6 separate regions of the Homo sapiens genome follow, and all the other regions are linked to region 3. The links are contacts of gene promoters, found by promoter capture Hi-C in human tissues and cell types (Jung and others, 2019). All regions are on one chromosome and are shown on one strand. The core of a region is centred on a gene start or on the middle of the fragment in contact, and the rest is flanking DNA. Distances in the headings are between cores, read along the strand shown. Region 1 has its middle 8.5 kb from the start of PACSIN3. Region 2 overlaps MADD (MAP kinase activating death domain). Region 3 holds the start of CKAP5 (cytoskeleton associated protein 5). Region 4 overlaps CSTPP1 (centriolar satellite-associated tubulin polyglutamylase complex regulator 1). Region 5 overlaps AMBRA1 (autophagy and beclin 1 regulator 1). Region 6 overlaps CSTPP1 (centriolar satellite-associated tubulin polyglutamylase complex regulator 1).

The links. Contacts are between HindIII fragments. The study calls those that stand out against the background at their distance.
Region 1: a contact is called between a fragment that was not itself captured here and the fragment with the promoter of CKAP5 in region 3, in 1 of the 25 tissues and cell types used here (aorta).
Region 2: a fragment that was not itself captured here is called in contact with the fragment with the promoter of CKAP5 in region 3 in 1 of the 25 tissues and cell types used here (dorsolateral prefrontal cortex).
Region 4: a fragment that was not itself captured here is called in contact with the fragment with the promoter of CKAP5 in region 3 in 4 of the 25 tissues and cell types used here (IMR-90 fibroblasts, adrenal gland, dorsolateral prefrontal cortex and 1 more).
Region 5: a fragment that was not itself captured here is called in contact with the fragment with the promoter of CKAP5 in region 3 in 1 of the 25 tissues and cell types used here (dorsolateral prefrontal cortex).
Region 6: a fragment that was not itself captured here is called in contact with the fragment with the promoter of CKAP5 in region 3 in 1 of the 25 tissues and cell types used here (heart right ventricle).

Annotation. Positions count from the first base shown.
Region 1 is chr11:47,192,971-47,196,833 of GRCh38, reverse strand. No RefSeq gene overlaps it. Among named protein-coding and RNA genes, the nearest start is that of PACSIN3, 8.5 kb to the right of the region's middle. The HindIII fragment of the contact is 8,886 bases long and covers 1-3,863 here.
Region 2 is chr11:47,303,128-47,306,779 of GRCh38, reverse strand. The region is part of intron 24 of MADD (MAP kinase activating death domain); the gene reads right to left. Among named protein-coding and RNA genes, the nearest start is that of MADD-AS1, 33 kb to the right of the region's middle. The HindIII fragment of the contact is 7,250 bases long and covers 1-3,652 here.
Region 3 is chr11:46,844,063-46,847,658 of GRCh38, reverse strand. CKAP5 (cytoskeleton associated protein 5) reads left to right here and starts at 1,379. Exons shown (of 44, transcript NM_001008938.4): 1 at 1,379-1,439. LRP4-AS1 (LRP4 antisense RNA 1) reads right to left here and starts at 1,248. Exons shown (of 3, transcript NR_038909.1): 1 at 1,160-1,248; 2 at 942-1,049. RefSeq lists enhancers at 985-1,104, 1,559-2,136, 3,195-3,596 and silencers at 1,315-1,394, 1,575-1,724. The HindIII fragment of the contact is 16,643 bases long and covers 1-3,596 here.
Region 4 is chr11:47,149,343-47,152,961 of GRCh38, reverse strand. All of the region lies in intron 4 of CSTPP1 (centriolar satellite-associated tubulin polyglutamylase complex regulator 1), which reads right to left. Among named protein-coding and RNA genes, the nearest start is that of ARFGAP2, 26 kb to the left of the region's middle. The HindIII fragment of the contact is 3,742 bases long and covers 183-3,619 here.
Region 5 is chr11:46,560,884-46,564,851 of GRCh38, reverse strand. The region is part of intron 1 of AMBRA1 (autophagy and beclin 1 regulator 1); the gene reads left to right. Among named protein-coding and RNA genes, the nearest start is that of AMBRA1, 31 kb to the left of the region's middle. The HindIII fragment of the contact is 4,353 bases long and covers 386-3,968 here.
Region 6 is chr11:47,107,603-47,111,572 of GRCh38, reverse strand. The region is part of intron 3 of CSTPP1 (centriolar satellite-associated tubulin polyglutamylase complex regulator 1); the gene reads right to left. Among named protein-coding and RNA genes, the nearest start is that of ARFGAP2, 67 kb to the left of the region's middle. The HindIII fragment of the contact is 6,222 bases long and covers 1-3,970 here.

The sequences.
Region 1 (3,863 bases), core at 1,040-3,539, 350 kb before region 3:
CTCACTCTGTCACCCAGGCTGGAGTGCAGTAGTGCAATCTCGGCTCACTGCAACCTCCGCCTCCTGGGTTCGAGCAATACTCCTGTCTCCACCTCCTGAGTAGCTGGAATTACAGGCACGCCCCACCACGCCTGGCTAATTTTTGTTTTCACGATGTTGGCCAGGCTGGTCTCGAACTCCTGACCTCAGGTGATCCACCCGCCTCAGCCTCCCAAAGTGCTGGGATTACAAGCATGAGCCACCGTGCCTGGCCCAGCCAGTTTAATTCTTACACTCAGCTACAGAACCTAAGAGGGTAAAAGGAAGTTTTTTTGTCCTCCCGCATCCTGTACCTTAATTAATGTTATCTATAAGGTGGGAGGAAAGAAGCAAAACTAAAGTTGTGATTGGCAAAGCAGCTGCAGTGAATCACATTGGCTAAAATAGGGAGATATTTGGTCATTTTTGTGTTTTGGACCATGTTCATATTTTTGCCTGTGTTCTGACATGAGTGATGATTTTTTTTGTTTGTTTGTTTGTTTTTTGAGACAGAGTCTTGCTTTGTCGCCCAGGCTGGTGTGCAACGGTGCAATCTCAGCTCACTGCAACCTCCGCCTCCCCGGTTCAAGTGATTCTCCTGCCTCAGCCTCCTGAGTAGCTGGGATTACACCCGACCTCAGGTGATCCAGCCACCTCGGCCTCCCAAAGTGTTGGGATTACAGGCTAATTTTTTTATTTTTAGTAGAGACGGGGTTTCACCATGTTGGTCAGGCTGGTGTCAAACTCCTGACCTCAGGTGATCCGCCCTCCTTGGCCTCCCAAAGTGCTGAGATTACAGGCATGAGCCACCTTGCCCGGCCCCATGCATATCTCATACCTCCATGGCTGCCACCCTGTTCATCTTCTGTGGTCATCTGACCCCGTACCATCTACCGCAGATACTTCTTAATTGGATTTCCCTGCTTTTTCTCTCTTTCTAATCCATGAGTCAGGCCAGTTTTTGTGTAAGGGGCAGATAGTAAATATTTTAGGCTGTCTGAGCCATATGATTTCTGTCGCACCTACGGTACTAACTCTACCATTGTGGTGTGAAAACAGCCAAAGGCAATTTATAAATAAATGAGTGTGGCTGTGTTCCAATCCAACTTTATTTGTAGATGCCAAAATTTGAATTTCCTATAACCTTTGTGCGTCACAAAATAGTCTTCTTTTTATTATTTTTTTCATCAATTTAAAACGGTAAAAACCGGCCCAGTGCAATGGCTCACGCCTGAAATCCCAACACTTTGGGGAGCCAAGGCAGGAGGATCACTTGAGCCCAGGAGTTCAAGACCAGCCTGAGGAACACAGGGAGACCTTGTCTCTGTAGAAAAAAAAGAAAGGGTGCAGCACACCAACATGGCACATATATACATATGTAACAAACCTGCACGTTGTGCACATGTACCCTAGAACTTAAAGTATAATAAAATAATAATAATAATAATAAATAAAAGTAAAAAAAAAAGAAAAAAAGTAAAAACCAGTCTTAGCTGTGGGCCATATAGGCCATGGTTTGCTAATTCCTTGCTCTAATCCATTCCTCATGCAACATCCAAAAAGGCCATTCAGTTCCCTCCTCTGCTTAAATCCCTCCAAGGGCCCCCTCTTGCACTCGGAACAGAACTCACAAAGCCTGGTAGTGTCTGGGTGCTGCCTGCCTCTCCCACCTCATTCTAGGCCTCTCACCCGCTCATTCACCGTGCCCTGCCCACTCCACCCTTCTGACCTGGAAGGTCAAGTTCTCATGTAAGGACCTTTTCATACATCAGTCTTCAGTTGTTCCGCCTGGAATGCCGTTCCCTAGGTCCCCTCTTCACCTTCTTAACTTCCATTTGTCTTCTGGGTCTTTTTGGGTGGAGGCTTAAACTCCCTGAAGCCACACTCCCACTATCCTCTTCCAGCACACTGTCCCTTTTTTTTTTCCTTCAAACACTCATGACAATTGGTAATGATGTTTTTGGACCTTTATTTGATTTCAGTGGAAAATTCCATGAAGTAGACATCTTGTCTGCTTTCTTTTTTTGTCTTGAGACGGAGTCTCGCTCTGTCACCCAGGCTGGAGTGTAGTGGCGCCATCTCAGCTCACTGCAACCTCTGCCTCCCCGGTTCAAGCAATTCTCCTGCCTCAGTCTCCTGAGTAGCAGGGACTACAGGCGTGCGCCACTATGCCCGGTTAATTTTTGTATTTTTAGTAGAGACAGGGTTTCACCATGTTGGTCAGGCTGGTCTTGAACTCTTGACCTCAAGTGATCCACCCTCCTCGGCCTCCCAAAATGCTTGGATTACAGGCGTGAGCCACCGCACCTGGCCTGCTTTCTTCGAATTAAGGACTGAGCACCCAGCCTGGTGTTGGTCACACAATGGGTGCCCAAGTGCACCAGGGTAGGCTTCTGGAGCAGGAGCCTCCCGGCCAACAGAGCTGAAACCCGGAGTACACAATGGCAACTCCTGGGGCGTCTCCTGCTGAGGCGGGGACCAGCTAAAGAATCTGCCTGGGGCAATGGCAGATTCCCGGAACTACCGGTTCCTCCCCTTTTTAGACTATATAGGGTAACATCATTTTTTTTTTTTTTAATAGGGTAACTTCCTGACCCTGGAGAAACTTTCTCTATAGGCTGCACTGTTGAAACCTGCGATTCATTTTCACCCGAGTGCCATCGGTCTGCCTTGGTAACCTATAAACAGCCTGCCCCACTGAGGTTAACTGCTCTCAATAACTGGGACCAGTCTTTACACGGGACTGCCTGAGCTCTGAAAAACATAGCTGTGAAATTAGAATACTTTACTCAGCTGCCTGTCAGGAATCCTGGGGCAATGTCCAGAGGCCACGGAGGGAAACTCACAAAGCAGCCTTCAGAGGAGACAGCCCTGCCTGCAGCACTTAGCCGGCTCTGATCTACTCTCGGCAGGGTGGCCAGAGTTATCATTAAAAAGGGGAAATCTGGCTGGGCGCCGTGGCTCATGCCTGTAATCCCAGCACTTTGGGAGGCCAAGGCAGGTGGATCACGAGGTCAGGAGTTCAAGACCAGCCTGGCCAAGATGATGAAACCCCGTCTCTACTAAAAATACAAAAATTAGCCATGGTAGCAGGCATCTGTAATCCCAGCTACTTGGGAGGCTGAGGCAGGAGAATTGCTTGAACCCGGGAGGCGGAGGTTACAGTGAGCCAAGATTGCACCACTGCACTCCAGCCTGGGCGACAGAGCGAGACTCTGTCTCAAAAAAATAAATAAATAAAATAAAAGGGGAAATCTGATCTACCTACTCTCATGGACACTTCCCACTGCCTATAGGGTAGCGTCCAAATTCCCTAGCCCACTTTGCAAATCTTCACCATCCAATCCCAACCTATCTTTCCAGCTTCATCTTCCATCTGCTTCTGTTACCAGAAAGGTGTCCTGATCCAGACCCCAGGAGAGGGTTCTTGGGTCTGGTGAAAGAGAATTTGAGGCGAATCCATAGAATAAAGTGAGAGCAAGTTTATTAAGAAAGCAAAGGAATAAAGCATGGCTACTCTGGCCAGGAACGGTGGCTTATGCCTGTAATCTCAGCACTTTGGGAGGCTGAGGCAAGTGGATCACCTGAGGTCAGGAGTTTGAGACCAGCCTGGCCAACATGGCAATAACCCGTCTCTACAAAAATACAAAAATTAGCCAGGCATGGTGGTGCACACCTGTAATCTCAACTACTTTGGTGGCTGAGGCAGGAGGATCGCTTGAACCCAGAAGGCAGAGGTTGCAGTGAGCTGAGGTCGCACCACTGCACTCCAGCCTGGGTGACAGAATAAGACTCTGTCTCAAAAAAAAAAAAAAAGCTACTCCACAGGCAGAGCAGCAGCAAGG
Region 2 (3,652 bases), core at 716-3,215, 460 kb before region 3:
AAACAGCTATACTTTTAACAAAAATAACTGAGGGAGACTGTGGGGGTGTATCAGAAGGGTGACAGGAATGCTGATGAGCACAGAAACTCAGGATGGCCACATAGAGAACAGATGGCAATATCAGGCCTCCCCCCCATCCCCCTTCCCCCATCTAGGATCAGCTGGGAACAAGGAGGAACTTCTCCCCACAGCAAGGAAGTAAGCAAGACAATTCTAGAAACTGCCACCAGCACCTTGGACACCTACAGACTTCACCACTGGCTTCCCTACAGTCCTCTAGGCACTAAGCCCAGCTGAAGGAGCTGCCTGGAGTCCATACAGCTGTGCTCCCTCCAGAGAAGGAGCCAATACTATGCGCCAGCCCCTGTGGCCTGTGCAGCTACTGTGCTATGCCATCTTGGAAGTGGAGCTACAGTGGGATTGTGTTTTGCTCTGGGGACAGATGGCCACAGCTCCCCTTCATTCCTGAGGCTAAGCCACCAACAAACCACTCTAGCCTGATGTCTTGACAATCTAAGCCAAGCTGTGAGCAGCTATTACATGATTCCCCAAGGGGCCAAGTGGAGGCAGAGCCACTCCACCTACCCCTCCCCACTCCCCTTGGGCTGCAGCTGAAGCAGTACCCTATCCACTATGAAAACAGTACTTAGACTGCTCAGAGCAGTCAGGCCTCCCTGGTGCCTAAGGTGAAGAAGCAATCTGTATCCCAGGAAATGGTGCCTTGGCCACCCAGGGCAGTCATGCATCCTAGCACCTAACTTGAAGCGGCACCCTGCATTCCAATGATACTGTGCCTGGGTCACCCAGAACAGTCATGCCCACACTAGGCCTGTGCTAAAGCAGCACATTGTCCCCAGGGGAATTGGTGGCTGGCCAAGCTGAGCAGCTACGCATTCCAGGGCTGAGCTGACACAGTACCCCATGTCCCAGGAAACAGAGCAGTGGCTGAGCTGAGATACCTTGCCCTAGCCAAACAACTCCAGTACCCTGCTTCCCTGGAACTGGACTTGCCCCTAGAGTCTGAGCTGCTAAGATACCCTCTTCCTGGGGAGTGGAGTCATTGCTGTGCTGCTCCCTGACCCCCAGGGCCCAAATGACAGCTGTGCTCTGCCACGCTGGGGTATTCGCTGCCATTGCACTTGGCTTCACAGAGTCTAGGATACAGCCAAGCCCCACCATCCTGGAGTCTAGAGTCACTACTACATGGTGCCTCATTCCGTGGGACCTGAGCTGCCACTGAGCCCTATTGGCTCAGATCCCTGAATTGCAGCTGTACCCTGCTCCCTAGGCCCAAACCTCCAGAGCACCCCTTCTTCCACAGAGTAAGGCCAGTGCTATGGCCTATCCCCCAGTATTAGAATCACAGTTATGAGCCAGTCCCCTGGGCCTGAGCTGCTAGCGGGTGCCTCAGATCCTGGCTCTGTGGGCAACCTACATCCAACCTTGCCACAGAGAGCAAATCTGTACCCCAATACCCAGGTGCCACAATAGGTTTGTGAGACCCTAAGCCTGGAAACCTGACTCCACAGCTACTCCACGCATCTGTACCTGGAACCCAGTGCCTCTGCAGCTGCTTGTAGGCCATGTCAGTCAGACCTGACACCAAGAGGGATTCTCTTGGCTGAGTCACTCCATTGTGAGGAAAATGAGAATAGGAGGACTCCAAAACTCCTTGACACCAAGGATATTAACAACATATACCACCACTGCCACTGCCACACTTCTATAGCCTAGGACTCTTGAGGCACCCATAGTTATTGCTCATGTTGAATGCAGCTGAAGAAGCTACACAGAAAACATACCACTACATCTATCCAGAAACAGAGTTGCCATACCCTTCCCAACTGGCACACTAAAACCCAACTGCATGTGAAAGTCTTTCTCTATGAAAGCCACTCCAGAGAGTTTGGAAGAAGTGACTGTTCTGCCAGATGTGGGGTATCAACACAGAGACATAAGAAACATGAAAAAAACAAGGACATATGACTCCACCACAGGAACATAATAACTCTTTGGTAATAGACCCCAATGAAAAGGAAATCAATTAATTGCCAGAAAATAAATTAAAAGTAATGATCTTAAGGAAATGCAATGAGATACAAGAAAATACAGATAGATGATTCAACAAAATCAGAAGAACAGTTCATGATATGAATTAGAAATTCAACAAAGAGATAAAAATCATAACAAAAAAACAGAAATCTTGCAGCTGAATAATTCAATGAACAAAGTTTAAAAAATACAATAGAGGGCCAGGCGTGGGGGCTCACACCTGTAATCCCAACACTTTGGGAGGTGAGGTGGGTGGATCGCCTGAGGTTGGGAGCTCAAGGCCAGCCGAAGCAACATGGAGAAACCCCGTCCCTATTAAAAAATACAAAATTAGCCAGGTGTGGTGGCGCATGCCTGTAATCCCAGCTACTTGGGAGGCTGAGGCAGGAGAATTGCTTTAACCCACGAGTCAGAGGTTGCGGTGAGCCGAGATAGTGCCATTGCATTCCAGCCTAGGCAACAAGAGCGAAACTCCGTCTCAAAAAAAAAAAAAAGGAAAAAATACAATAGAGAACTACAACAGCAGACTTGATCAAGCAGAAGAATGACTCTATATTTGAAGATAAGTCATTCGAAATTAGTCAGAGGGAAAAAAGTTAGAATGGAAAACAGTCAAGAAGGTCTACAACACTTAGGGGATCTCATTAAGTAAACAAATATTCATATTATTGGATTTCCAAAGAGAGAAGGGGAAAGGCATAAAAAACTTATTTAATGAAATAATAGCTGAAAACTTCCCAAGTCTGGGGAGAGAGATGGACAGCCAGATCCAGGAAGCTCAAAAGTCCCCAAACAGATTCAACCCAAAAAAGTCCTCTCCAGCCAGATGCGGTGGCTCACGCCTGTAATCCCAGCACTTTGGGAGGCCAAGGCGGGCAGATCATTTGAAGTCAGGAGTTCGAGACCAGCCTGACCAACACGGTGAAATCCTATCTCTACTAAAAATACAAAAAAATTAGCCGAGCGTGGTGGTGCATGCCTGTAATCCCAGCTACTCAGGAAGCTGAGGCAGGAGAAAAGCTTGAACCCAAGCGGCGCAGGTTGCAGTGAGCTGAGATCACACTACTACACTCCAGCCTGGGTGACAGAGTGAGACTGTCTCAAAAAAAAAAAAAAAAAAGGCCTCTCCAAGGTACATTACAGTCAAATTGTCAAAAGTCAAAGAGAGAATTCTAAAAACAGCCAGAGAAGGCCGGGTGCAGTGGCTCACGCCTGTAATCCCAGCACTTTGGGAGGCCGAGGCAGGCAGATCACGAGGTCAGGAGATCGAGACCATCCTGGCTAACATGGTGAAACCCCGTCTCTACTAAAAATACATAAAAATTAGCCAGGCATGGTAGCAGGCACCTTAGTCCTAGCTACTCAGGAGGCTGAGGTAGAATGGTGTGAACCCAGGAGGCGGAGCTTGCAGTGAGCCGAGATTGCACCACTGTACTCCAGCCTGGGTGACAGAGTGAGACTCCGTCTCAAAAAAAAAAAAAAAAAAAACAGCAAGAGAAAAGTGTTAAGTCACATTTAAGGGAATCTCTATTAAACTAACAGATTTCTCTGCAGAAACTTTACAAGCCAGTAGAGAATGGGATGATATATTCAAAGCGCT
Region 3 (3,596 bases), core at 130-2,629:
CGACAGAGCGAGACTGTCTCAAAAAAAAAAAAAAAAAAAGCAGTATTGCAGTAAACATCCTTGTACATTTTTCTTTGCATACTTGCACAGATCTGTACGATAAATTCCTCATAGTGGATTACTGGGCCAGAACTAGATTATGTACATTTTAGTAACTGTCAAATTGTCCTCCTAAAGGTTTGTACCAATTATACTCTTACCAATATTGACTTTGAGTGTCCATTTTTCCAAATCTCTTTATATTTTTAAAAACAGAGATGGGGTCTTGATAGCAAGACCCAGGTTGGTCTTGAACTCCTGGCCTCAAGCAATCCTCCTGCCTCGGCCTCCCAAAGCGCTAGGATTACAGGCATAAGCCATTGCACCCAGCCTGTTTTTCCAAATCTTGACCAACCAAAGGCTGTTGAACTTTTTCATCTCTGCCAACTTGACAATGAAAAAACATGTAATTGTTTCATTTACTTTTATCCATCCTCTCTCCATCTTTTAGCCTGTTGGGAATCTACACATTCTTTAAATCCTAGGTTAAAAATTCATCTTCCTCACAGATCCTCCCCCATCAAATTTCTCCTGTCTCTAAGCATTTATAGCTTTTCATTTATACAGTTATTACACTGCTTTGAATTTTAGTGACTAGTCTGTATGTTATATTCCTCCAACCACTGTAGATTACAAATTCCTTGGAAGTAAGGACCTGAACTCATTCACAGAAACACTGAATGTAGAGCTAAGCTAAAATTCTGGAGATCATGTTAACCAAGCCTCTCGTTTTTATAAGGGAATATTAAGCATTTGCAGGATGCGTTACAGTTCACAAAGGCTTTTCTCAGACATTCTATTAGTTATATTAACTCCTCCATTAAATTGTAAGGGAAACATCGTTATCCCATTTTACAGATAAGGAAACAACTCCAGAAGATTTACTGAGAAAAGTGATTTACTCAGAACAGTTCCAAGGTCAGAATCCAGCATCCTGGCTTCATTCGCTGTTACTTCCACGACATCTCAGCTGCCTCTGGTTTCCCTCACAGCACTTAGCTTCACAATCTCTAGGGAATGAAATGACCAAAAAAAATTGTCGGGTGTTGACAGCAGCCTGAACATCTGTAATTAAATAAAGCAAACATGCTGACGACCAAGGATGCCCGGGTCTACACACATTCTTTCGCCTTTCTTTCTGGAGTCGGCAGACTTGCCCCCGGCAGCGACCAGCGTCCCCACCCGTGCAGGCGGCGTCTGGTCCAGAGGGAAACACGGCTGCGCGCGGCCCCTTTAAGGCTGCGGGCGGCGCGTGCCCACAGGCCTTTCAAATGGACCAATAAAAGTCCGATGGGCGGTCCGTCGAGGACCAATAAAGAACGAGGACACTGCGGGGTGTGCGGCGGCCCAAGCGGTTTCAAACGGCTTAGAGCAGGCCGCTTGGTTCTGACCCAGCTGAGGTGAGTGGTCGGTGGGCCTGCCCCACCCGCGAGGCCCTCGAGTGCAGGCATCGCGCGCGCAGAGGAGCCCCTGAATCCTGGGCGGCTGGAGGTCTCCAGACGCGCGCCCCACTTGCCCCACGAACCCGGCAGGTCTGAGGCGGCGAAGCGAGCCGGAGGCCGGGGGACCTGCGGCGGGCAGGGCCGGGGGCGTGGGCGCTCGTGTGCGGCGGAGGCCGGGGTTGGGCTCCAGGTGGCCAGAGCGCGCCGCAGCGTGGCGCGGGTGGCAGCGTCCGCGGGGCGCGGGCGGTGCAGGGCCGCGCCTGGCGGCAGCGATTTACCAAGACTAGGGCGGGGGCCCCGAGAGCCGGCCCTGCTAGAGTGCCTCTCGCGTAATTGTCAAGTGAATGAATAAGTAAGCGCCTACGAGGGCTGTGGTGGTTGCGAAGGGCCTTGTCGCCCTGGAGCAAGGACAGCGGCACCGGGGCCTGGCCGCACACCTGTGTCCCTGCTGGCTTGCTGCGATGTGAACGATTCCGATCATCCACCACCCCGCCCTTAACGACTGGCTTTCTCTCTCTCAACGTGTCGGGAGCGTTCTGGTGTCCTTCCAGCCCTGGAGGTGTTGGGGAACCAATACAATAGCCAGCAGTGTGGGTTGGGCCTTGCTACTTTAAGGTCGGGCTCGGTGAACTAGATTCTTACTTTTGAGCTCTCCCCTCTACTTGTAATCGTGGTAATTGTTGAGCAGGATTGAAATGCATTCCGTTGTGTTTCTTGGATAGAAAATGATGAAAGGGTTGTTGCCAGAGTGGCTAGTGTGTGTTAGAAAATATATTCGTGTTGATGAATCTTAACAATGAGTTTTTTATTCAGCATCAATAGAGGTTGAAGTGGTTTTTGCAGAACTTGCCCCAAATTTATGCGTGGCTCTAATTTAATTCTCATGGGACCAAGGCATCAAATCTTGGCCCAGAAATGCTGCCTGTCTTATGCATAATTATAGTAATTGAAAACTCATTTTTAGAAAGGTGAGCTCCTCCTTCCTCCATTTTCATCACCCTGAAAAGTCCTTCTTTTGACCTAAAGAGCCAATAAATTAAGCTAAGAATCTTTTGAAACTTTAAGAAATTGTAGAAGACTTTGACTTCTCTGAAGTGACTGGACAAACTGTAATGCTTTTACCAAATTTAATGATATAGATAAAGGTGAAATCAATTTATTTTGCAACCATAAGTTAAATCTAGTTGGTAAACTCATGTAAAAAAATTTTTAAATAAGATTTTAGGCTGGGCGCGGTGGCTGACGCCTGTAATCCCAACACTTTGGGAGGCCGAGGCGGGCGGATCACGAGGTCAGGAGTTTGAGACCAGTCGGGCCAACATGGTGAAACCCCGTCTCTCTCTCTCTCTCTCTACTAAAAATACAAAAAATGGCTGGGCGTGATGGCGGGCGCCTGTAATCCTAGCTACTCGGGAGGCCGAGGCAAGAGAATCATTTGAACCCGGGAGACAGAGGTTGCAGTGAGCCAAGATCCCGCCATTGCACTCTAGCCTGGGTGACAGAGCGACCCTCTGTCTCAAAAAAAAGAAAAAAAATTTTTTAAAAGGCTGTTCACTGAGGCAATGGCAAGCAAAGGTATTCCGTAACAATTAACATGCCTTTTACTTTATTCTCCATTACTTTAAAGTCTTGATCAGTTTTGAATTATGTTTGAATTATGAACAGTGGGTGTGGTAATTCCATCGCAGTCTTCTACTACTGACAGTTCAGTTTTAGCAGCACCTGTTTTTTTGGTGTTTTTTGTTTGTTTGTTTGTTTGTTTTTTACCTTCACGGTTTATTGTAAAGGATGCTACAAAGCATACAGATGAAGAGAGGCGTAGGGCTTGTAGGTATGGGAGAAGGGTGTGGAGCTCTTATGCTCTCATATGAAGTGTGTTTGAATATACCAACTCTCCTGTAAACTTTTATCTTAATTCCATCAACACTCACTTTCTTTTCCTTTTTTTTTTTTTTTAAGACAGAGTCTTGCTCTTTCGCCCAGGCTAGAGTGCAGTGGTGCGATCTCAGCTGACTGCAACCTCTGCCTCCTGGGTTCAAGCGATTCTGCCACCTCAGCCTCCCAAGTAGCTGGGACTTCTTGTGTGCACCACAATGCCCAGCTAATTTTTTGTAT
Region 4 (3,619 bases), core at 804-3,303, 300 kb before region 3:
GCTCTGGACATGAGAAGCCACTGACTTTCCTTTACTGCCCTGTTCTCAGGACAGCTGGAGCCCCAATAGTCTAAAGTGAATTACGACAGAACAGCACTGGGCTGTGAATATCCCCAAGCAGGAAACCACCAGGGAGCCCAAGGCTTTCCCCGTGTTCCATGGCTTCTGTTGATCATCAGTTGGAACACAGCACTCCCATAGCAGCAACTTCCACTTGCTATTTATTTACATTGTGATATAATGACACACCATAAAAGTCACCCTTTAAAAGCGTACAATTCAGTTTTTTAGTATATTCACAAAGTAGCGCCACCATCACCACTGTCTAATTACAGAAGTTACCTCCATTTGCAATTCTCACCAATAGGCCCATTCCAGAGCCTGCCTCGGAGCAGAAGCTTGAGCTCGTACTTCCCAAAGGGCTACCCCTGCCTCGCAGCCTCGCGGAAGCCTTAATGCTGAGTGCCACTAGCATCTTCCTCTTTCAGCCACAGATGGGACTAGAAGCTATAAACAGGGCACACCCTTCCAGCCTCAGAAGTGGTCTGCAGCTTTCTGCTAGGGGCCATCTTGACCTCAAACATCAGCAGTCCCTTTGGAGATGGGCCGTTGCAGAAGAGGGGGCGCACACCGTGGGAGGGTAGGAGTGTCCGTCAGAGCAGGGCAGCCCTGCAGGTGCCCTTAATACGGGTAACAATAGAGGCATTTTTTTTTTTTTTGAGTCTTGCTCTGTTGCCCAGGCTGGAGTGCAGTGGTGCAGATCGGCTCACTGCAACCTCCGCCTCCTAGGTTCAGGTGATTCTCCTGCCTCAGCCTCCCTAGCAGCTGGGATTACAGGTGCCTGTCACCATGCCCGGCTAATTTTTGTATTTTTAGTAGAGACAGGGTTTCACCATGTTGGCCAGGCTGGTCTCGAACTCTTGACCTCAAGTGATCCGCCTATAGAGGCAGGTATCTTTCCTGAGTACCCTACCTCATGGCAGGCTATTAAGGCATTTGACTACATTAATTAAATTTTATTCTACAACAGTCCTACGGGTGGGTCTTATTGTTATTTCCATTCTACAGGTGAAGAGTCTGAGTCTCAGAGACTGGGGAGCTGAAACATATGCCGAGCAGGAGGGAGTAGGGGGCGAGTGAAGCGGGTGCAGACAGAGGCGAGGGCTTTCTTTCTGGGGGACATGTGGCTGGATCCCAGCAGCACATGTATAAAGGACTGAGGGTTTTTTTTCAACTGCAAGAAGTAAGACTGGCTACCTTTTAAAAAGCCAAATGGATCCGAGCTTGTGTTAACAGCAACACCGGCTATGACTCTCCTCAACCAGAAACGCTGGGCATACTAGACATCCTGGAAACTTCCCCCCGCCACCCTCTGCTCCAAGCCAATCAACCAGTCACCAAGTCCTATCAATGCTATTGCTGAAATTTCTCTTGAATCCATCTACTTCTTTCCACGTCCACAGCCACCATCCTACCCCCAGCCTTCACCTCTCTTTTCTTGATGATGGCATGACCTCCTACCCAGTTTCCCTGCAACTACTCCTCTTGCTTTTTTTTTTTTGAGATGGAGTCTCACTCTGTCACCAGGCTGAAGTGCAGTGGCTCACTGCAACCTCCGCCCCCTAGGTTCAAGCGATTCTCCTGCCTCAGCCTCCCGAGTAGTACTGGGACTACAGGCGTGCGCCAGCATGTCCAGCTAATTTTTGTATTTTAGTAGAGACGGGGTTTCACCATGTTGGCCAGGATGGTCTTGATCTCTTGACCTCATGAGCTGCCCACCTAGGCCTCCCAAAGTGTTGGGATTACAGGCGTGAGCCTTCTTCTAATTGAGTATCCATCCTGTGGGCAGAAAGATTTTCCTAAAATGTGAATGTGACCATTTTACCATTGTGTTGGAAACCCTTCACAGAGGCCGGGCACAGTGGCTCATGCCTGTAATCCCAGCTACTCAAGAGGCTGAGGCTGGAGAATCGCTTGAACCTGGGAGGTGGCCATGTCAGTGAGCCAAGCTTGTGCCACTGCACTCCAGCCTGGATGACAGAGCAAGACTCCATGTCAAAAAAAAAAAAAAAAAAAAACCTTCACAGTCTTCCCATTGCCCTTAGGACACGTTCCCCCATTTGGATCTGGCCTGTGAGCCCGCTCCATCTGCCCCCTGCCTCCCTCGACTCCCCCACTGCATTCTGGCCACACTAGTCCTTCCATCCTCCCTGAAGCTGTCCTTACTCATGCCCTCCAGACAAGTCTGTCCCTCTAGCCATAATGCTCCCTGTCCCTTCTACCCATGATGCTCCCTGCCCTCCATGCCTCCTCCTCACCTACCGGATATCTCCATATTCTTCAGGCTGAAGCCTCCACAGCATCTCTTGGGGAAGATGAAAGAGGAAAGCACCTTTTCTAACCCAGCCTAGAATAGGCCCCCCTGCTACTGGCTTCTGCAGTTCTCGGAAACCTCCTCACACTGTTGTCTTTGTCCTGGGAACATAAGATCTACCAAGTGACACCTCTGTCTCCCTGCTTGTGGCTTGACTCTGGTATGGTGTCTGGCACATAGTAGGCACTCAGTCAACGTCTGTTGAATGAAGAAATGCATGAACAAATGAGTGAGAGAAGCCACGGTCCCCTTTTCCTCTGGCCAGGTGGCACCTGGAGCAGTTTCTTAATCCCTCTCATAAAGATACTTACAATCTTTATGGAGAATGCAGACATTCAGAGGGATTAAGAAACTTGGCGAAGGTTACAAGCTAGGAGCAAAAGAGCTGTCATTCAAATACTACTACCTTCAGGTCTGGACAGTCCGTTTAAGGGGAGTAAACTAGAGTCCTGGAGAAGAGGGTCAGGCTGATGGACAGTCTAAAAACCAGGATACTGGATAAATGGCTGCATTTAGATCTTTTGCTTAGAAGTGAAGACTAGGGAGGAAGTGAAGGCTGAGACCCAACTCTCAAAGGACTGCCTCTTGGGGAGATGCCACGGGGATCTAGAGTTTGGCTCTAGAGACATTTTCAAGCTGCTTAGTTCTAGGATTGTGGCTGATTTGTAAAGGAATGAGATGTGTATTGCCAGAAATGTTCAAGCAGAAGTTTGAAGGCTCATACTTCCCAAAGGGCTTCTTCCAGCTCTGACAGTGTTGTCCCAAGGGTGGACAGAACTAACAGCTCCTCCTGTTAGTGTTAAATCTAGTGGGGGGACAGTTTGATGTTCAGAGGTCTATGGCTGCAGAAGACTTACTGAAAGGTGCTTTTAATCACATCATATGCTGTGCTGTCTGTCTCCAAATGAATGCTGAGACCATGAAAGTTCTAGGCATCTGTGTCTTTAACCCACCTATGGGATCTTTCTGGCTGTGGGCATCTGCATCTTGCTTTGGAATCTCAGCAGAACTATGGGAAAAGGCAAGCAGGAAGCTCCTGGTCTGTCTTTGCCTCTTTGCCTTTGCCTGCAACCCTTCTATCCCCACAGACAGCTCCTTCCTTCTGAACTCAAGCTCATTGCCACTCCCAGAGGGCTCGGGAAAGAATCTTCTTGGAGACGAGGTCATCCCCATGTGCTGTTTTCCAGTTGCTGGCAGTTGGCTCAACACCCCTTCCTGCCAGAGGCCTTCTGCTAACGTGCCAGC
Region 5 (3,968 bases), core at 1,313-3,812, 280 kb after region 3:
TGATGATCTGTGTATATATTACAAATACTAATTAATATTCATAGCCCACTAGGAGGCAAATAATAGTTAACCTCCAGTGAGGTTCGCTCCTTCTTTAGATAGATAGGTTGAGGCATGGATATTATAGAATTTGTCCAAGGTTATAGCATGAGTCACTGTGTTCTGACTCAGATTCATTCAGATTTACTAATTCTTTCTCCCTCTCCTCATCTCTTGAATCAGCTCTTTCTAATTATGACTTTCTAGGTGTGAGGACATGAAGAGAGCTTTTTTTTTTCTTTTTCTGTATTTTATAGAAGCAGTATTGTATAATGGTTAGAGCACTATACAATACTGCTCATTTGGCAACAGATTTGATTTTGAATCTCTCCTTCACTTAGGTAAATCATTTAGCCTCTTTATGCCTGGTTTTCTGATCTGTGAAATGGGAATAACAGTACCCATCTTCATAGTATCATTGTGAGGAAAAAGTGAGATAAAGTGTTTAGCACTACCAAGTGTGTAGCAAATGTTCAATGAATATTAGATAATATGTTGCTTTAAGTGTATATATATGTGTTATATTCTATCACTTGTCTTTATCAGTTCATATGTAATTGGATACATACTGGGATTTCTCTTTTTTTTTTTTTTAATACTGGGATTTTTCTGCCATGTACTTAAGAAGGCTTTAAGATTGCTCTTACGTTTTTTTTTTTTTTTTTTTTGAGACGGAGTTTTGCTCTTGTTGCCCAGAGTGGAGTGCAATGGCGCCATCTCGGCTCACTGCAACCTCTGCCTCCTGGGTTGAAGCGATTCTCCTGCCTCAGCCTCCCAAGTAGTTGGGATTACAGGCATGCGCCACCATGCCTGGCTAATTTTGTATTTTTAGTAGAGACGGGGTTTCTCCATGTTGGTCAGGCTGGTCTCAAACTCCTGACTTCAGGTGATCCACACACCCCAGCCTCCCAAAGTGCTGAGATTACAGATGTGAGCCACCACGCCTGGCCTTTTTTTTTTTTTTTTTTTTGAGACAGTCTCGCTTTGTTGCCAGACTAGCCTGGAGTACAGTGGTGTGATCTTGGCTCACTGCAACTACCGTCTCCTAGGTTCAAGTGAATTCTCCTGTCTCGGCCTCCCGAGTTGCTGGGATTACAGGTGTGCACCACTATACCCAGCTAATTTTCATATTTTTAGTAGAGACGGGGTTTCACTACATTGGCCAGGCTGGTCTCAAACTCCTGACTTCAAGTGATCTGGCCGCCTCTGTTTCCTAAAGTTCTGGAATTACAGGCATGAGCCACTGCACCTGGCTGATGGTTTCTTTTAAAGAAATGAGGTTTCTCATCAGGGTGCCGTGTGGCTCATGCCTGTAATCCCAGCACTTTGGGAGGCTGAGGTGGGAGGATTCCTTGAGCCCAGGAGTTTGAGAACAGCCTGGGCACATAGTGAAACCTTGTCTCTACAAAAAATAAAGAAAATTACTGGGGCGTAGTTATATACACCTGTAGTCCCAGCTTCTGGGGAGGCCGAGATGGGAAGATCACTTACTCCTGGGAAGTCAAGTCTGCAGTTCAGTTGAGATCCTGCCACTACACTTCAGCCTGGTTGACAAAAACAAACAAAAAAAAGAGATGAGGTCTATGTTCTCTATGTTGCAGGCTGGTCTTGAACTCCTGGCCTCAAGCAGTTCTCCTCCATTAGCCTCCTGAGTTAGCTGGGTTACAGGTGTGATCTACCTTGCTTGACTCTCAAATGTTATGTATAATTATTTAAGAATAGGAAGCAGGCCAGGCACGGTAGTTTCAGCACATTGGGATGGCAAGGCAGGCAGATCACCTGAGGTCAGGAGTTTGAGACCAGCTTGGCTAACATGGTGAAACCCTGTTTCCACTAAAAATATAAAAAATTAGGTGTGGTGGCATGTGCCTGTAATCCCAGCTACTCAGGAGGCTGAGGTAGAAGAATCGCTTGAACCTGGGAGGCGGAGATTGCAGTGAGTCGAGATCATGCCATTGCACTCCAGCGTGGGCAACAAGAGTGAAACTCCTTCTCAAAAAAAAAAAAAAGAACCAATGTTGCATTATATTTATTATACTATTAATTTATAGGAAAAATTTAAGTTTCTCTTGAATTCATATTTTCTCAGGCTCATATTCATAGAAAAATAGAAAGTGATCCTAAACTATTGATTTATCCCTTTAATCTGCTCCCCCACCCGCAAACATAACACATATAGTAGAACCCTTCTCAATAAGTGTCTCCACTATCCACTTGGGACTTAGGCCCAAAACTTAGGAATCACTCTTCATTTCTCTCTCACACCTCAAATACAATGCATCTGTAATTCCCTTAGCTGTTTCTCCAAAATATATTCTGAGTATGACTATTCATCTCTTATATTGCTATAACCCTGGCCCAAATTCCCATCATCTTGTCATTTCCTTAGCTAAAATCCTCTAATAGTAACCCATTACACTTAATAAAATCCAAATTTTATCATGGTCTGCTAGTACCAACCTGTCTTTATTCTCTTCCTTGTTAGTGGTGCTCCAGCCATGTTGGCCTTATTTCCGGCCTTCACATGCGCTAAGCTTACCTGTTAGGGACCTTAGTACTTGGTACTCCTCATCCTCCTTGAAATATTTTTTTCACCTGCCTCTTTTCTCAAGGTTTCTATTTCAAGATGCCAGTCTTAACTCAAATGTCATCTCAGAGAGGCTTTCTCTGGCCACCCCAGGTAAAAGGGTGTGTTGTTTTCTTTCACCTGCCATATTTTCTTTCTAGCCTTTTTCAGTACTTGAAAGTATTGTTAATATTTAATTATATAAAAATCACATAAGCTTTTGGGGGGCAAGAATGTTCTTCTTTACTATAGTATCCTCAGTGCCTAGAACAGTGCCAACATAATACCTGCTTAATCAATGCTTGTTGGTTATTTATCAGTGCTTTTACATCCTTCCCCATCTTTAAGTGTTCTTTATTTGGAAAGTTGGGGAAATGGAATCCAGCTTCTACTCAGATTTAAATAACTAGGTTCTTAAATCTAATGCCTTCTTTTGATTGGCTAAGAAATGTGATTGGCATGGTAGGGTGGCATGTCGGCCTTTTAGCATAAGAACTCTGTGTTTAATAATTTGACTTCTTTTCTTGAAGCCTCGAGGGAAATTTTTTCTTTCCCTATTTTAGTCAGCCAAGAACCTGACCTGGGCTGACTATAAGATTGGAAAACACTGAACACAGTATCTACTAAGCCAAGCAAGGACTGGGAGTGTAGCTCTGGTACTATCTGAAGGAAAAGCCTGAATTCAAATCCTGCTTTGGCTCCAGACTCATCTGTGAATCTAGATGAATTTCTTAACCTCTTCCAGGTTTTGTTTTTCTTATTTGTCTGATGAGTAATCACATCTGTCCTAGGACTTGTGAAGATTCCTGGGTTAATGTTCTCAAAGCTTTTTTTTTTTTCTGACAATATTCTTTCCTTTTTTTTTTGAGATGGAGTCTCACTTTGTTACCTAGGCTGGAGTGCAATGGCATGATCTCGGCTCACTGCAACTTCCACCTCCTAGGTTCAAGCGATTCTCCTGCCTCAGCCTTCCGAGTAGCTGGGATTACAGGCGCGTGACACCACGCCCAGCTAATTTTTGTATTTTTAGTAGAGACAGGGTTTCACCGTGTTGGCCAGGCTAGTCTCGAACTCCTGACCTCAGGTGATCCACCTGCCTTGGCCTCTTAAAGTGCTGGGATTACAGGTGTGAGCTACTGCGCCTGGCCCAACAATATTCTTGCTGTAGCTCCAGGGGTTTCCAGGAAGAATTGGGGGCAATGTGGTGCTCCCAGGAAGGAGTTGGATTCTTTCTCAAAGACTATGCAGAGAATAGAAAGATGTGATCCTTTATGATTTGAAATCGGCCCTACTCCAGCCTCCTGATATTGTTGGTGGATGAAAGGTATATTGTTGCCAAAGTCATTAGGTCTGTTTGAGGCAG
Region 6 (3,970 bases), core at 784-3,283, 260 kb before region 3:
GAGTGGGGTGTGGAGTGGGGTGGGCTTGGCTAAGGGCTGAAGCCAACAGGAGAGTCGTTAGCAACATAAGAGAGAAAGCAATGGAGCATGGAAGCATCACGTACAGCAGTCGAAACTCATTCTGATATCAATGCAACCGCAAAGTCATGATGAAAATGACTACAAACCACCGGGGAGTAAGCCAGGGAGCCCAGCAACATGAATGCACTCGTAGCGGGGAAAAACAAATTAAGAGATTCAGGCAAAACCATTCCCTTTCCTGGTGGAGGCTCTTTAATCTTTAACATCTCTCTCTTGACACTAGGCACAGATCTTGCCCCAACAAGACAAAGGATAACTTCTGAGAAGCTAATAATTCTCGTTTGGGTGAAGGACTCTTGAGGAGATGAGTGCCATGTATCTGCTGGACTAAAGATGTGTTCTCAGGCCGAGGCGGACAGATCACGAGGTCAGGAGATCGAGACCATCCTGGCTAACACAGTAAAACCCCGTCTCTACTAAAAAAATACAAAAAAATTAGCCAGGAGTGGTGACGGGCGCCTGTAGTCCCAGCTACTCGGGAGGCTGAGGCAGGAGAATGGCGTGAACCCGGGAGGCGGAGCTTGCAGTGAGCCGTGATTGCGCCACTGCACTCCAGCCTGGGCGGCAGAGCTAGACTCTGTCTCAAAAAAAAAAAAAAAAAGATGTGTTCTCTTGGTCATACTGTCTCACGCTGGGTGGATCAGGGCTAACCCACCTCCATGGCTTTCATGACTGAAGGGGCTTCAGGGCCCTGGAGTTGCAGACAGGAATGCAGTCTTTTTGGGAACTGGAGGCAGGCAAGAATATAATAAAGGCTAGATGAAGATACCCAGGCTGGGCTTTAAACTGCTTTAAATTGTGCCAGTTTCTTCTGGCAACTGCCCTAAGGAAAGCAAAGCCAGGCACCACCCAGTGGAAATCTGGAAGTGGGCATACTTTGTGGCATCAATTATGCCAGTTTGGCCAGGAAGTTTGTAGTACTTGGTCTCTATGACCCTGACCTAACCTACTCAATAAGGGGCAGTTTAGTCTGAGTCAGAAGAAATGAAGAGCGACTCGATATTGTGATCTTTGACTTAACGTATTCAATTTGTAATTAAGACCATTATTAAAATCAGTATAAGAAATCATGTCTTCTCATTCCATTCCTCAAACTCTCTGTCTGTCTGCCTTTACTATTTCCTGATAGTAACCATGGATATTTGCTTTAGAAGTTCTTAATTGCTACATTCTTAGCTACTTATTTAGTCAATATACTAAGTGTCAAAGGTATGCCAGGGACTGTGCTAGATTCTGGGGAAACAGCAAGGGATAAGACAGATAAAAATCCCTATTTTCATGGTACTTACATTCTAGTGTGTATGTGTGGAGGCAGTGGTTGGGGAGACAGAGAATAAAAAGTAACAAAGAAAGAAATACTTTTAGGAAGTGAGGAGAGCAATGACATAAATCAGGCAGGGTGGTGTGATACACAGTGACTGAGGGTGGGACCACATGAGATGGCTGTGCCAGGCTCATCTTTGAGAACGTACCATTTGAGCTGAGAACTCACCAGATGAGAATCAGCCAGCCATGCAATCTAGGGAAAGAAGGAAGGGCAAAGACCGGGAGATGGGAATCAGCAACAAGAGTGTTTTGCTTCCCGCCTCTCCATTCTGCACACAAATGCTATTTCTCTGTCTCTGGCATGTTGCAATCTAGCATGTTAAAGAAATTGCTCTATGATGCCTAGGAAGGGAATAATATTAAATGAAACAGAATTCCAAGCCTTACCAATTACTGGAGCTACATACTGCCATGGGGGAGGGTGGGGACACTGAGGAAAGATAAGGCAAGGGCTGTGGAAGCTGCCCCAGGCTGCCCCATTTCACTACTGTGGTTAACTGGCAAAGGAGTCCATGCAAATGAGTGCAGGATGTCCAAATCGCAGCACTGTTTCACACATCATCATTTCAAGTCACCGACTGACAGGATTTAGCACTCTGTGTCTGGCAGCAACCAGCAGTGAAGCAGAGAGAATTCCACTGGATTATCCAAAGCATCTGACCCGCAAATGAGGAGTGAGCAGAACATTTTTAAAAAACAACTCTTGAGTGGTTCAGTGAGCCAATTTGACATCGAAGAGAGACACACAAACATCCAGCCACCTCTGAGGCAAAAGGTCAATTTCTTCTGCTTGTCCTCGGTCCTCAGAATCCAAGTTACTGATGTGAGCTCTGTCCCTCATTTTCCTAGCCAAAGGGGTAGATGTGAAGCACAGACAGGCCAGATACAGTGTTCTGGGACAACACACCATTGTCTGAATCCAGAGAGCATCATGGCTACAGTGGACGAGAGTAGGCTCAGTGGGAGAGGCTCAGGGAACATCAGAAGTGCAGGGCCTGTCTTTTGAAGATAAAGTCTGGCTAGATCAGCTTTTCAGTGAAAGAAGCCAAAGTCTGCAGCCAGATCTTCATTTTTGGTGAGCCCATCACAGATTCCAGGTTTAGGATGAGGGGCTAGAATGAAGGGAAAAGGCCAATTATCACCCTATAAGAAGTAGATAGGCTAGGGGCGGTGGCTCACGCCTGTAATCCCAGCACTTTGGGAGGGTGAGGTGGGCGAATCACTTGAGGTCAGGAGTTCAAGACAAGCCTGACCAACATGGTGAAACCCTGTCTCTACTAAAAATACAAAAATTAGTCAGGCATGGTGGCCGGCGCCTGTAATCCCAGTTACTCAGGAGGCTGAGGTAAGAGAATCGCTTGAACCCAAGAGGCCGAGGTTGCAGTGAGCTGAGATTGTGCCACTGTACTCCAGCCTGGGCGACGCAGTGAGACTCCATCTCAAAAAAAAAAAAAAAAAAAAGTAGATAGTACTGAACTGTCCCACCCTTGTGGGTTTCTGAACTTTCTAATTCTCCAATCAAGTCCTGAGACCCTCCTGCTCCCCATCCTTCTCTCCTCCAAGCTCTTCTCACACAGCTGTGAGGTAAGATTTACTAGATGGAATGTGTTTGCAAAATCTGTTTTGTTCACTGTAACATGTTTATCAAAAAAGAAAAAAAAAAGCCTGTCCCTTCTCACTATTTAGTTTTTGGTGACTGCCTTTTGGGATCTGGAACTGGATAAACAGATGGACTTCACAGAAGAAATCAGGCGAAGCGCCAGGGTGTGTATATATATCTTAGTCTCACTGTATATACGGCAGATAGCCCTCGTGCAAACAGCTGTGCTGGTTTTGGAGGAAAGTGAGGGGACAGTGTCTCCTGGATGACAGTGCTCCCATTGCTCCAAGGTGTACCTCCCTGTGGTGCTTTGGGCTATAGGATGCCAGACAGATTCTAGAGTTCTAACCTCAGATATATGACCCTGATTTCATTTTCTGGCCTCTAGTTGTGGTAATTAAGGGTTGTGCCAGATCCCAAACTATTGCTAATTATTCATACTGGGTTTGCTATAAACGAGTGCTGAGTATTTGCACTGTGTATAGTGATGAGTACCTTTGCAATATACTGGATGCCTCTATTAAGGGGATGCCCAGGAGGGGTATGGTTTTGAGCGTCTGTGTGTGTGTGCGCACATGCGCACATGCAGAAGTTGTGGAAGGCCTGGACTACTGTATTTGCCTGGCCACAGAGAAGTATCACTGCCAGGGGAACAAGGTACAGTGATTCCTCATGTGCAGCACGCTGCTGCCCCAAGGGAACTGGGGGGGAATTGTACCGAGCAGTTTCCCCCTAATTTTTTTTTGCCACCTTGTCCAGTATAAATCTCTATTGCAGGGGTGGAGGTGGAGGAAGTAATTCTTTCTTAATTCAATGTGCTTCAATTCCCAGATATGAACAAACTTCAGAACATTTTAGGAGAATCTTCTAATAGAAAAAACATATTCATTTGCTTCACAGAGTAGGTTTCAGGTGGATGTCTCCTTCTCTCCTGGACAAACTCCTTGAAAAAAAACCATGAAA